Regions from separate parts of the Homo sapiens genome. Here region 1 is linked to region 2. The links are contacts of gene promoters, found by promoter capture Hi-C in blood cells and fetal thymus (Javierre and others, 2016). All regions are on one chromosome and are shown on one strand. The core of a region is centred on a gene start or on the middle of the fragment in contact, and the rest is flanking DNA. Distances in the headings are between cores, read along the strand shown. Region 1 holds the start of ZNF543 (zinc finger protein 543). Region 2 holds the start of ZNF418 (zinc finger protein 418).

What was found. The method cuts DNA at HindIII sites, captures the fragments that hold promoters and counts their contacts. A CHiCAGO score of 5 or more calls a contact.
Region 1: a contact is called between the fragment with the promoter of ZNF543 here and the fragment with the promoter of ZNF418 in region 2, in 4 of 17 cell types (naive B cells, non-activated CD4 T cells, total CD4 T cells and 1 more). The highest score is 9.2, in naive B cells.

The regions. Positions count from the first base shown.
Region 1 is chr19:57,315,816-57,322,685 of GRCh38, reverse strand. It overlaps ZNF543 (zinc finger protein 543), which reads right to left and starts at 2,214. Exons shown (of 4, transcript NM_213598.4): 1 at 1,815-2,214. The coding sequence starts at 1,832. It also overlaps the pseudogene LOC100288211. RefSeq lists enhancers at 2,116-2,265, 2,276-2,395, 3,321-3,838 and a silencer at 4,911-5,205. The HindIII fragment of the contact is 3,609 bases long and covers 1,227-4,835 here.
Region 2 is chr19:57,933,468-57,940,241 of GRCh38, reverse strand. It overlaps ZNF418 (zinc finger protein 418), which reads left to right and starts at 4,840. Exons shown (of 6, transcript NM_133460.3): 1 at 4,840-5,081; 2 at 6,340-6,425. The coding sequence starts at 6,420. RefSeq lists enhancers at 4,873-4,962, 4,555-5,437. The HindIII fragment of the contact is 3,111 bases long and covers 2,246-5,356 here.

The DNA of each region.
Region 1 (6,870 bases), core at 965-3,464, 610 kb after region 2:
CCTCCACTAGTCTACCCAAAGTCACATCTCTTATCAGGAGAGACAGAATTTGAACCCAGGGCCCTATGGTCTATGTTCTAATCATGCAACCCGACACTCCTTCATTAGCAAAGTTAATGCACAGTTAATGAGGATGGGAAACATTGAAATACATCCATTTGAGCCACCCTGAAAATATTTTCAGGATTTTTTTTTTTTTTTTTGAGACAGGGTCTCAATATTTTGCCCAGGTTGGGCTTGAACTCATGATCCTCCTGCCTTAGCCTCCCAAGCTGGATATACAGACACATGCCACTGTGCTGGGGTTAGCCACTTGAAATATTTTCATGGACCTGGGCAGAGCAGCATAGTCATAATCACCTACCTCACAGAAGAGTCACCTGAGGTGGTGGCACCTGCCTCAAAAGTGGCAGGGCCTGGACCTGCATCTGCTGCCTCGGACACTTCTGGGCCTCACAGATGCCCATTCTCATAGGAAGAATCCACAACGAGCTATCACTACCTTTTCCTGTTTGAGTCCTACCAACAAGTATCCCTGAGGTCAGGATACTTCAGGAGCAAGGAACAAGAGTCACAGAGGACACAGCAGGTTGTAGCCATGAGAACATGGGCCCCTGACTGGCTATGTCTGTCCTGGCTAAGGAGGAAGGCACATCTAGCAAAAGACCACAAAATCTTGTGTCCCAAGACATGTGTCAGCTGGTATAGGAGAAAACCACTCAGGAAACCACTGTGGAAGCCACACGGGTCCCCTGCGGACTCCTTAAACAACCAATAAACCATTTTTTTTTAGTCCACACAGTTCCACCAGCATGAAATGCCATGACTCCTCATGTCCAAGACCACCTGCTAGAAGGAAGCCTGCTCAACTTGCAAAGTTTACTTTAGGTGTCACCCCCAGGCCTCCCTAACCATTGCGGGCAAAGAAGAGGGTAAAAACACAGGCTGTGATGGTAGACACACCAGTTGTTAGTTTCTGATACTTAAGAGCTACAGTGATGTAAGGCAGGTAATTGAACCTATGTGAGCCTCCAGCTGCTCTTGTGTAAAACAGTGAGGACAAGAGAACCTAATTCTAAGGAGTTCAGGATTAAAGGAGCTGAGGGTTAAATAATGCCTGCCAATCAGCCCACAGCAAGGACTCTTTATGATCAGCTGTCACTCTTTGCAATTATTTCGTTTCTCTTTGTTCACATAACATCCTAGACCAACTCAAACGGCAAGCTTCTTTAATATCGTCAGATTCTCTATACAAAAATGCCACACATTGCCAAAAATGGGCAAGTGCGTAAGGCGCCACTTTAGCCGGAATTGCCAAGAAAGCCACCTCCAAATAGGTGACATCTGGACAGAGGCCAGAAAGATATGAGAGGGAGGCCCTGCGAAGTTATAGGGGCAGTGTTCAAGGCAAAGGGAAGTGCAAAGAGAAAGCCTGGAAAAAGGAAGAAGACTGCACGGTCAGGTTGGTGGCTCTGAAGAGCAAAGGACAAGGGAAAAATGGAGAGACAAGGTCAGGGGTGGTTGGCCAGGTGGATGGGGTAGGGGCTGGCAGGCAACAGAGGAGGTTGGATTTAAGGGAAGTGTGATGAGATCCATGAAGGAAGCATCATTCATCCTTCTACCAAGGACTGAGCACCTGTCGGAGGCCAACACTATTGCAGGACTGCGGATAAAGGAAATGACAAGCTACGGCCACTTCTCTTAAATAAACGACGGCGACAAAGAAACATCCTGTGGCTGTCTTGGCTTCTGCCTGCCCACGAGGCCTCCAGAAGTAGCAGAGCAGCAGCAAGGCCAAAACCTCGTCCACTCACCTGCGCCGAGGCTGCCATCCTGAGACCCTGCAGCCCTAGCGGGGCCCGGGAATGCCGCGGCTCAGCCGACCCCCAGCCCTTCTCTGTCCTGGGCGGGGCGACCTCGGCTGACTTTCGCACTCGGAGCCTCAGTTTCCCCAGAGAAAAATGCGCACAAAGCGGGCGCAGCGTCGGGGCTGAGGAGACGGAGGGCGGCTGCGGAGGCCTAGGCCTCGGCAGGCGCCGGTGGAACACCCCGTTAGGGAAGAAGCGGGGCGTCAGGCTCCCGCCAAGATGCGGAGAAGGCGCGTAACAGCCTCATTACCCTCCCCTGCTCAGGCCGCTGGACGCGCCTACCCAGCGGTCCAGGCCCCACACTGTTCCAGGGCCAATCCTGCTCACGGAGATGACGTCACGCGACGAAGCGGAAGTCCCACCTCCGCCGCCCTGGCCCGCAGAAATCGCCCGTGTCCTGGCCCGTCATTGGCCTAGAGTCCGCGGCCGACGCAAGGGGTGGTGCCTTCTGAGTAAGGCAGTTTTTCCCTCACATCTACCGGGTGTGGGAACTCACCAAGCGCAGCCGACTCCATTTAAGTGCGCACAAGGACCCCCGCGTCGTCTTAGGGCCGCCGCTTTACTATGGGCACAAGTCGGAGGGTCGAAAGGTCCTTTCTAGCTTAGGAAAATTGAGGTCAGGAGGCGGGGATATTCGCCCCGATTGAGATCATGGGCTGGGCCCAGAGCTTCTGGCTCACTTCCCTTATTTTAGGGAGGTAGCTCATATATGTAATCTCAGTGCTTTGGGATGCCAACACAAAATAATTGCTGAGGTCAGGAGTTTGAGACCACCCTGGGCAATATAGTAAGATGTTATATCTACCAAAAAAAAAAAAAAGAGCAAGGCATGATGGTGTACACCTGTAGTCCTAGACACTGGGAGGCTGAAGCAAGAGGATTGCTTGAGCCCAGGAATTTGAGGTTATAATGAGATATGATGAGAGAAAACACACACACATAAACACACTGAGATGCCATCTTATACTGGTCAGAGTGGCTATTATTAAAAAGTAAAAAACCAACAGATGTTGGTATGGATGCAAGGAAAAGGGAACGCTTATATGCTATTGGTGGGAATGTAAATTAGTACAACCTCTATGGAAAACAGTATGGAGATTTATCAAAGAACTGAAAATAGAACTGCCATTTGATCTGGCAATTCCACTATTGGGTATTTACTTAAAGGAAAATAAACCACTATATCAAAAAGATGCCTGTACTTACATGCTTACTGTAGCACTATTCACAGTAGCAAAGTCATAGAATCAACCTAAGTGTCCATCGACAGATGATTGGATAAAGAAAATGCGATATATATATGTATATATATGTATGTATATGTATATATGTATATATATGTATGTATATGTATATATGTATGTATATGTATATATATGTATATATGTATGTATATGTATATATATGTATATATGTATGTATATGTATATATATGTGTATATATGTATGTATATGTATATATATGTATATATATGTATGTATATGTATATATATGTATGTATATGTATATATATGTATATATATGTATGTATATGTATATATATGTATATATATGTATGTATATGTATATATGTATATATGTATGTATATGTATATATATGTATATATATGTATGTATATGTATATATGTGTATATATATATACACTCCATGGAATACTACTCAGTCATTAAAAAAAATCATGGCTTTTGCAGCAATATGGCTGGAACTGGGGGGCCATTCTCTTAAGTGAAATAATTCAGAAACAAAGTCAAATACTGCATGTTATCACTTATAAGTGGTAGCTAAATGATGTATACATATGGAAATAGTGGAATAATAGACACTGGAGATTCAAAAAGGTGGGAGGCATTGCCGGGGACCCCTCACACCATGGTGCTTCACTCACCTACACCACAGCCATGCCACCCCATTGGCACACACTTGCAGGTAGCCCCCCTCTACTGCCCAAGTGGTGCACACTTGCCTGTGGCCTCCCCATCCCCCAGCCACAGTGCACTCTCTGCAGTCCCCACAATGCTCTGCTGGAGCACTTTTGCCAGCAGACTGAGAACACCTCAGCCCCTCTAGCACAGCAGGTGCTTCACCCCAAGCAGCCAGAGAACAAAGCCAAGGGCTTAATCCCCTCTACCCAGGTTTACAGCATGCAGCTCAGGAGTGCTCAGCTGAGCCTTGGCCTGTGAAAGCACCCATAATTGAAACCATGAAACTAAACCCAACTTATACCACAGTAAAACTCCCAAGGGCATCAAATAATATAAAAGCAGAAAGCCCCATCCAAAGGAGAGCAACTTCAAAGATTCAAGGAACATCAGCCCACACATATGAGAAAGAACCAGTGCAAGATTTCTGGCAACTCTAAAGGTCTCCAAACGACTGCACTAGCTCCCTAGTGATGGTTTGGAACCATGCTTAAATGGCTGAAATGACTTAGAATTCAGAGTCTGGATGGCAAGGAAGGAAAAATCCAAGGAAACCAATAATGCAATCCAAGAGTTTAAATATAATATTACCATATTAACAAAGAACCAAAATGGGCTGGGCACGGTGGCTCACGTCTGTAATCCCAGCACTTTGGGAGGCTGATGCGGGTGGATCACTTGAGGTCAGGAGTTCGAAACCAGCCTGACCAACATGGTGAAACCCTATCTCTACTATAAATACAGAAATTAGCTGGGTGTGCTGGCAGGCACCTGTAATCCCAGCTACTCGGGAGGCTGAGGCACAAGAGTCCCTTGGATCCAGGAGATGGAGGTTGCAGTGAGCCAAGATCATGCCATTGCACTCCAGCCTGTGCAACAGAGCAAGACTCCGTCTCAAAAAAAAAAAAAAAAAAAAAAAAAGAAAGAAAAAAAAGAAAGAAAAGAAAAAGAGTCATCAAACTGAACTTCTGGAAATAAGAAATTAACTACAGCAATTGCAATTTCATAATGTAACTGGAAGCGCTAACAACAGAATAGACCAAGCTTAGAAAATAGTCTCAGAGCTCAGTTTTTCCCCATGTGTCTGCCGCCTAGGGGAGGTGCCTCATCCGGAGCGGGCCGCCAGCTGTCCGGCCCTGTCCGCACAGAGGCTCCTGTCGTTGGCGCCCGGGAGTGGCTTGGCTGCCCGATGCTTCTGCCCCGGCTGCCACGGGCAGGGCTGTACGCTTAGTGCCCGGCTCAGGCCCCTTGAAGCGCCCGCGGGGGTGGGAGCGGCCTCCGGCCCCGCGGAGACCGAGCGGCTTGAGGACTAGGCGGCGGCCGCGGGGAGGAGGATGGGGGCTAACCAGTTAGTGGTGCTCAACGTGTGTGACATGTATTGGATGAAGGAATATACCTCATCCATTGGAATTGGAGTTTTTCATTCAGAAATTGAAGTCTATGGCAGAGAATTTGCTTATGGTGGCCATCCTTACCCCTTTTCTGGAATATTTGAAATTTCCCCAGGAAATGCTTCTGAACTAGGAGAACCATTTAAATTTAAAGAAGTTGTTTTAGGGAGCACGGACTTCCTAGAAGATGATATAGAAAAAATTGTAGAAGAACTGGGAAAAGAATACAAAGGCAATGTTTATCATTTAATGCATAAAAACTGCAATCATTTTTCTTCAGCTTTATCAGAGGTAAACTAAATTTTATCCTAAAAGTTCTTCAAATAAGTGTTTGCTATCCCACAAAAAAAAAGAAAATAATCTCAGAGCTCAAACACGACTCCTTTGAACCAATACAGCAGAAAAAAATAAAGAAAAAAGAATTTTAAAAAATGAATAAAACCTACAAGAAATATGGGATATGTAAAAAGACCAAGCCTATAACACATTGGCATTCCAGAAAGAGATGGAGAGACAACAAGGAACTTGGAAAACATATTTGATGATACTGTCCATGAACATTTCCCCAACCACACTAGAGAGGTTGACATGCAAATTCAGGACATTCAGAGAACCCCTGTGAGATGATATTATACAAGATGACCATCCCTAAGACACATAGTCATCAGATTCTCCAAGGTCAATACAAAAGAAAAACATTAAAGGCAGCTAGAGAGAAGTGGCAGGTTACCCACAAAAGGAACCCGATCAGGCTAACCGTGGACCTTTCAGAAAGTTTACAAGCTGGAAGAGACTGGGGGCCTATATTCAGCATTTTTAAATGAAAGAAATTTGAACCAAGAATTTAATATCCAACCAAACTAAACTTCATTAAGTGAAGGATAAATAAAATCTTTTTCAGACAAACAAATGTTAAGGGAATTCATTACTACCAGACCTGCCTTACAAGAAGTCCTTAAAACAGTGCTAAACCTAGAAGCAAAAGATGAGTATCTGCCACCACAGAAACAACTTGAGCACATATCCTGTTGATACTACAAACCAACTATACAATAAAGTCCACATAACAACCAGCTAACAACATAATGACAGGATCAAATCCTCACTTATCAATATTGACCTTGAATGTAAATAGGCTAAATGCCCCACTTAGAAGGCACAAGGTGGCAAGTTGGAAAAAGAAATGAAACCCAACTGTGTATTCTCTTCATTAGACACATCTCACATGCAATGACACCCATAGGCACAAAGTAAAAGGATGGAGAAAGATCAAGCAAATGGGAAAAAAAAGAGCAGGGATTGCTATTTCACACGAAACAGACTTTAGACCAACAATGATCAAAAAAGGCAAAGAAGGGCATCACATAGTGATAAAGGATTCAATTCAACAAGACTTAACTATCCCAAATATATATGCACCAAACACTGGAGCACCCATATTCATGAAACAAGTTCTTAGAGACCTACAACAAGACTTAGACAACCAGACAATAATAGCAGGAGACTTCAACACCCCACTGACAGTGTTAGATGCATCACCAAGGCAGAAAGCTAACAAAGGTATTTGGAAGCTAAACTGGACATTTGACCAAATAGACCTTACAGAAATCTACAGAATACTCTACCCAACAACCACAGAACATACATTCTTTTCATCTGCACATGTCACATATTCTAAGATCAATCACAT
Region 2 (6,774 bases), core at 3,591-6,090:
GGCATGATCTTGGCTCACCGCAGCCTCTGCCTCCTGGGTTCAAGCGATTCTCCTGCCTCAGCCTCCTGAGTAGCTGGGATTACAGGCATGCACCACCACCCCGGCTAATTTTGTATTTTTAGTAGAGACAGGGTTTCTCCATGTTGGTCAGGCTAGTCTTGAACTCCCGACCTCAGGTGATCCACCCGCCTCAGCCTCCCAAAGTGCTGGGATTACAGGCGTGAGCCACCGCACCCAGCTTTTTTTTTTTTTTTTTAAAGCTTCCACATATGAGTGGGAATGTGCATGTTTATGTTCCTGGCTTATTTCACTTAAATAATGTCCTCCATTTCCATCCATGTTGCCTCAGGTGATAGGATTTCATTCTGTTCTTTGAATAGTATTCCTTTGTGTGTATAAACCACATTTTCTTTATCCATTTATCTGTTGTTGGACATCTAGGTTGATTCCATATTTTGGCTATTGTGAATAGTGCTGCAGTAAACGGGGTGTAGATGTGTCTCCAATGTGATGATTTTCTTTCCTTTGGATAAATTCCCAGTAGGGGGATTGCTGGATGATATGGTAGTTGTGTTTGTAGTTTTTTGTTTTGTTTTGTTTTGTTTTTTGAGACAGAGTCTCACTCTGTTATCCAGGCTGGAGTGCAGTGGTGTGATCTTGGCTCACTGCAACCTCCGCCTCCCAGGTTCAAGCAATTCTCCTGCCTCAGCCTCCTGAGTAGCTGGGATTACAGGTGCGTGCCACCACCCCTGCTAATTTTTGTATTTTTAGAAGAGACGGGGTTTCACCATGTTGGTTAGGGTGTTCTCGAACTCCTGACCTCGTGATCCGCCTGCCTCAGCCTCCCAAAGTGCTGGGATTACAGGCGTGAGCCATCGCGCCTGGCATATTTGTAGTTTTTAGAGGGACCTCAATACTGTTCTCCATAATGGCTGTACTGGTTTGCATTTGCACCACCAGTGCATGAGTTCCCTTTTCTTGTATTTTGTTGGGTTTTTTTTTTTTTTTGAGATGGAGTCTTTCTCTGTCGCCCAGGCTGGAGTGCAGTGGCATGATCTTGGCTCACTGCAACCTCCGTCTCCCGGGTTCAAGCTATTCTCCTGCCTCAGTCTCCTGAGTAGCTGGGATTATAGGCACGCACCACCACGCCTGGCTAATTTTTGCATTTTTAGTAGAGACAGGGTTTCACCACGTTGGTCAGGCAGTCTCGAACTCCTGACCTCGTGATCCACCCAGCTCGGCCTCCCAAAGTGCTGGGATTACAGATGTGAGCCACCGCACCTGGCCATTAGTTCCCTTTTCTCTGCATCCTTGCCAGCGTCTGTTTTTGTCTTTTTGATAATAATTATCCTAAACGGGGAGAGTGATACCTCATTGCGGTTTTGATTTGCATTTCCCAGATAGTGATGAGTGTGTTTTAATATATTTTTGACCGTTTGTATGTTGTCTTTTGAAAAATGCCTATTCAGATCGTTTGACATTTTTAAATTGGATTGTTTGAGGGTTTCTTTGCTGTTGAAATACTTCAGTTGCTTGTGTATTGTATTCTGGCTCTATTTTTTTTTGAGACGGAGTTGCTCTGTTGTCCACGCTGGAGTGCAGTGGCACGATTTCAGCTCACTGCAACCTCTGCCTCCCGGGTTCAAGCAATTCTCCTGCCTCAGCCTCCCGAGTAGCTGGGATTACAGATGTGCGCCACCACACCCACCTAATTTTTGTATTTTTAGTAGAGACGGGTTTTTGCCATGTTGGCTAGGCTGGTCTCAAACTCCTGACCTCAAGTGATCTGCCCACCTTAGGCTCCCAAAGTGCTGGGATTGCAGGCATGGCCACTGCATCTGGCCTCTTTCTTGATTCTTGATTACACTGTCACTGAGTGGGTTCTACATCAGAAAAAGATGAATAGGCCAGGTGTAGTGGCCGAATCCTATAATGCCAGCACTTAGGGAGGCCGAGGCAGGAGGATTGCTTGAACTCAGGAGTTTGATACCAGCCTGGGCAACATGGCAAAACCACATCTCTCAAAAATTAGCTGGTTGTGGTGGTGCATGCCTATAGTCCCAATTACTCCTGAATGCTGAGATGGGAGGATCACTTGAGCCTGAGAGGTTGAGACTGCAGTTGAGCCTTGATCATGCCACTGCGCTTCAGCCTTGGCAACAGAGTGAGACGCTGTCTCAAAAAGGGGAGAAAAAAATAGAATGTGGAGATAAGCAGATTTCAAATGTGAAGTGAAAAAGAAGCTTTTCATTGTTCAAACCATATTGCTAAGTGAGAAAAAGTACAGATGTGTATAGAATCTATGACTTTTTTCCTATAAGATGAAAAACTTGTAACATAATTGACACACAGAATAATGAAGAAAGGGAGACACAATTCTATGAGGATAATACTATACTGCAGATTTCACCTTCTGTTTTTACTTATTCATTAAATTATTTATTTGGAGACAGAGTCTTGCTCTGCTGCCCAGGCTGGCCTCAAACTCCTTTGCAGAAGTGATCCTCCCTCTAAGCCTCCCAAGTAGGTAGGTGAACAGGCACAATTTTTCTCCACCTTGGTATTGTTCAATGTTTTTAATAAAGAAAAAAAAATCTCAATGACAAAACCAACAAGGGGGACATTTTTAATCACATGCTGACCTTAATTCCATCTCTTCGTAGACATCACTGTTAAAACTTCTGGGCCGGGCGAGGTGGCTCACACCTGTAGTCCCAGCACTTTGGGAGGCCACCTCGGGTGGATCACCTGAGGTGAGGAGTTTGCGGCCAGCCTGGCCAAAATGGTGAAACCTTGTGTCTACTGAAAATACAAAAATTAGCTGAGTGTGGTGGCAGGCACCTGTAATCCCAGCTACTTGGGAGGCTGAGGCAGGAGAATGAATTGCTTGACCCAGGAGGAGGAGGTTGCAGTGAGCTGAAACTGTGCCATTGTACTCCAGCCTGGACAACAAGAGTGAAACTCCTTCTCAAAACAAACAAACAAACAAACAAACACCTGTAAAGTCAGCTGGGAGCAGTGACTTATGCCTGTAATGTCAGCATTGTGGGAGAAGGAGGCAGGCAGGTCAGAGGTCAAGAGTTTGAGACCAGTCTGGCCAACATGGTGAAACCTTGTCTCTACTAAAAATACAAAAATTAGCTGGGCGTGGTGGCAGGCATCTGTTATCCCAGCTACTTGGGAGACTGAGGCAGGAGAATCGCTTGAACCCGGGAGGTGGAGGTTGCAGTGAGCCAAGATGGCGCCACTGCACTCCAGTCTGGGACAGAACGAGACTTTGTCTCAAAAAAAAAAAAAAAAAAAAAGAAAGAAAAACTTCTGTGAAGTGTAAATTTTTTTCACCATCCACTCATGTTTCAATTGACCTATTTCTGTCATCGCAGTTATTAGATAGTCGTTGGTAATAAGTTTCTGTAACTGGCATTTCACCTGTTTTTCTGGTATCATATTAGTTCCTCATGCAGAACACTCCCCGCTGTCACAAGAGAAACAAATGATAATCACTTCCCAGGAAAGATAACAAGCTCGATAATTTAACATACGCCTAGTGTCTCCAGGTGGAGATTATCACCACCATTACCAATACCAAGCTGAGATTTCTCTTTCATTGTTCTTTACCTGAGACTGACTTCAAGTTCCTAAAATGAGTTGAAAATATAAGTTAGAATACCAAGTAAGGGATATTACATGAATAAATGTTTTGCTGAATGAATTGGACACAATAATTGACTATATAAGCAGGAGAGTTGTTTTTCCATGGGAACGACTGATTGACCTTTGTACTCTTTCTTTAGCCTCTCCTCTATCTTCCTTGGCATGGTCCTATCTGGATTAGTTCTCTTTTGTCCCTGGCAGACTGAAAAACCAACTCTAATGCCTCAGAGTGAGGCAGGAGAATAGGGAATTAGGGTAACCAAGAATGAAGGCATAAGCAAAAGAACAGCAGGTGCAGCTAGTTCTAGGCAAGATGAGGCAGCACACAGGCCACGTCCTCACTCCTGTGGTAACAAGACAGAAGTCTCCACTTCAGCCTCTGATTGGTTGTGCACCAGTCCTTCATAGGATTGGAGGCCTTTAAAGAACTCTTGGGGTATTATAAAATTCTAGCTTATTCATGGCAAAAACCGCAATTACTTTTGCACCAACCTAATAAAACCCTAAAAAACATTGTAATCGGGGTTCTTGAGCCGCTTGGTCGCCTGCTCCCACACCTACATTCCACTTCTGTGGAGTGTACTTTCCCCTCAATAAATCTGCGCTTTCATTGGTCCGTTCTTTCGTTGCTTTTTTTGTGTGTTTTGTTCACTTCTTTGTTCAATGCGCCAACAACTGGACAACTCACAGCCAAGACATTCTATCCGGTAACAAGAGTGCATTCATGTGAATTATAACAGAGTAATGTTTATCAGCCTCTGCTTCCAGTGCAAGCATTCTGTGTCTAAACGATTGTATAAAGTGATACACGAATTTGGATTTGTAGCCTTTGGGGGCCTTCACAGTATTTTTAGCGCCTGGGAGCTTGAATTTACAGAAATGTGAATTAATATTTTTGCAAACACTTAGGTGGTCAGTTACAAACAGGGATTCCCCAGGAATCTCAATATGGCCTCTAAGGAGGGGCGAGACCATCCTCTGCCCTAAAAGGGTACGCGCTTTAATGAACCCCCTGAGGTAGGGCTGGGACTTCCCTGCAGAAGCGCCTTTGGGAAGCGGCAGCTTTACTACCTTGGAACCTGGGGAACTACATTACCCAGAAAGCTCTACATTGAATGACAGCGCAACAGAACCAGTAAGGGCTCAGAATAAAGGCGTTTCTGTGTGCGCACGTAACGTAGTGGCGGGATTCTCAGCGTTCTCTGGTAGCGACCATTTTGGTTAATGTTGGGTGTGTTTCTGCGGTTTGTGAGGTGAGAGGCGCTGGAGCTATGGGTCCGAACCGCGGTGTCTGAACCCAGAAGGTGAAGAGTCCTTCTTGCTGCACAGAGGCAGATCTTAGGCCCCGTAACGGCGCCCGCCGCTCCCGGCAGTGCTTTCCCCGCGTACTCGGGATGGCGGCGGCCGCGCTGAGGCTCCCGGCTCAGGTAATTGTGCCTTCCCTGCCCTCAGGTCACCTCATCCTAACCCGAATCCTGAAGCAGCGAGAGAGCGGCGACTGTTCACAGGTCTGCAGCCCGGACCCGGCGTCGGGACACTGAGGCGTTCGCGGGAGAGGTCCTTGTTTCTGACACCTGTGGGATGCGGTGGGGAGAGCGACAGGCACAGGGACCGGCGCGGGCTATGGCCTGGAGGACAGACCCGGGAGGATGGAACCTGGGGTCCACAGGCGCCTGTAGGGAACAACGTGTGAGGCGAAGCTTCTCCTGGAAGAGCAGGCTGGGGGCTGTGTATTCGCTGTGAAGACGCTAGAAGCCATGGAGAGTTTCGAAGAAAGGAGGGATGCGATCCAAGTCCAGGCTTTTAAGGTTTCCCAAAGGCCAAAGGAAGAACATAGTAGAGGAGATGAGGACCTTAGGGTTCTGGGAGGTTGACTCCTTTGTTGATAGATCACATAGGTGGTAGAGATGACATTTTGCACTGAGACACGCAGGTCAACCAGTCTGAGGTCACCTGGCTCCAGCGATAAGAAAAGGTTCAAGGAGACCTGAGCTTATCAGATCCCCTTTGTAACGTCTGCTTTCCCCTCAGACACTCCTGGCTACAAAAGCACGTAAAGAACCCACTGAGGGGGTCGGGCAAGGTGGCTCCCACCTGTAATCCCAGCACTTTGGGAGGCCGAGGCGGGCGGATCACCTGAGGTCGGGAGTTCGAGACCAGCCTGACCAACATGGAGAAACCCCGTCTCTAACAAAAATACAAAATTAGCCAGGCGTGGTGATGCCGCATGACTGTAATCCCAGCTACTCAGAGGCTAAGGCAGGAGAATTGCTTGAACTCGGGAGGCAGAGGTTGCGGTGAGCCATTGCACTCCGGCCTGGGCAACAAGAGCGAAACTCTGGCTCAAAAAAAGGAACCCACAGAGGGAATTAGAGGGTGTTCCATTCCCTCACTGGCCTTATTCCCCATTCACATGTTCTCTAGCTTGTGATGTCCTGGGACTCTTACTTGCCATTTTTTCAGTCCTTTGATCTGAGAACACTGGAGAAACCCTAAACCCAGAATCCTAAGTCCATGACACAGGATGTATGGAGGTATTCCCATTTCTGTCAACCCATGTAAACATACTTTGAAGGTTAACTACAGAGTTGGTACCAGGTCATGAAATGCTTAGAGGTAAAAATTCGGTGGGGAGGCAAGAGGGCGGCGAGGAGGTGATGTTACCACAGTCCCATTTGTCTGCAGGCATCATCTGGCTGCAAAGAAGAGAACACACTGTGTTTGAGGGAGGAGGAAGGAGGATCAGAGTTTAAACTCCTGCCATAATGCAGGTGAGGGTTACTGGACCATATTAATGAGTAAGGAGCTGTGGCTGGATTCAAGATTCACAGTTTGTAAAATGGCAACTAGATTTTCCTTTTTTTTTTGAGCGGGAGTCTCGCTCTATCGCCCAGGCTGGAGTGCAGTGGCACGATCTTGGCTCATTGCAAGCTCTGCCTCCCGGGTTCACGCCATTCTCCTGCCTCAACCTCCCGAGTAGCTGGGACTACAGGCGCCCGTCACCATGCTCAGCTAATTTTTTGGATTTTTTAGTAGAGACGGTTTCACTGTGTTAGCCAGGATAGTCTCAATCTCCTGACCTCGTGATCCATCGGCCTCGGCCTCCCAAAGTGCTGGGAT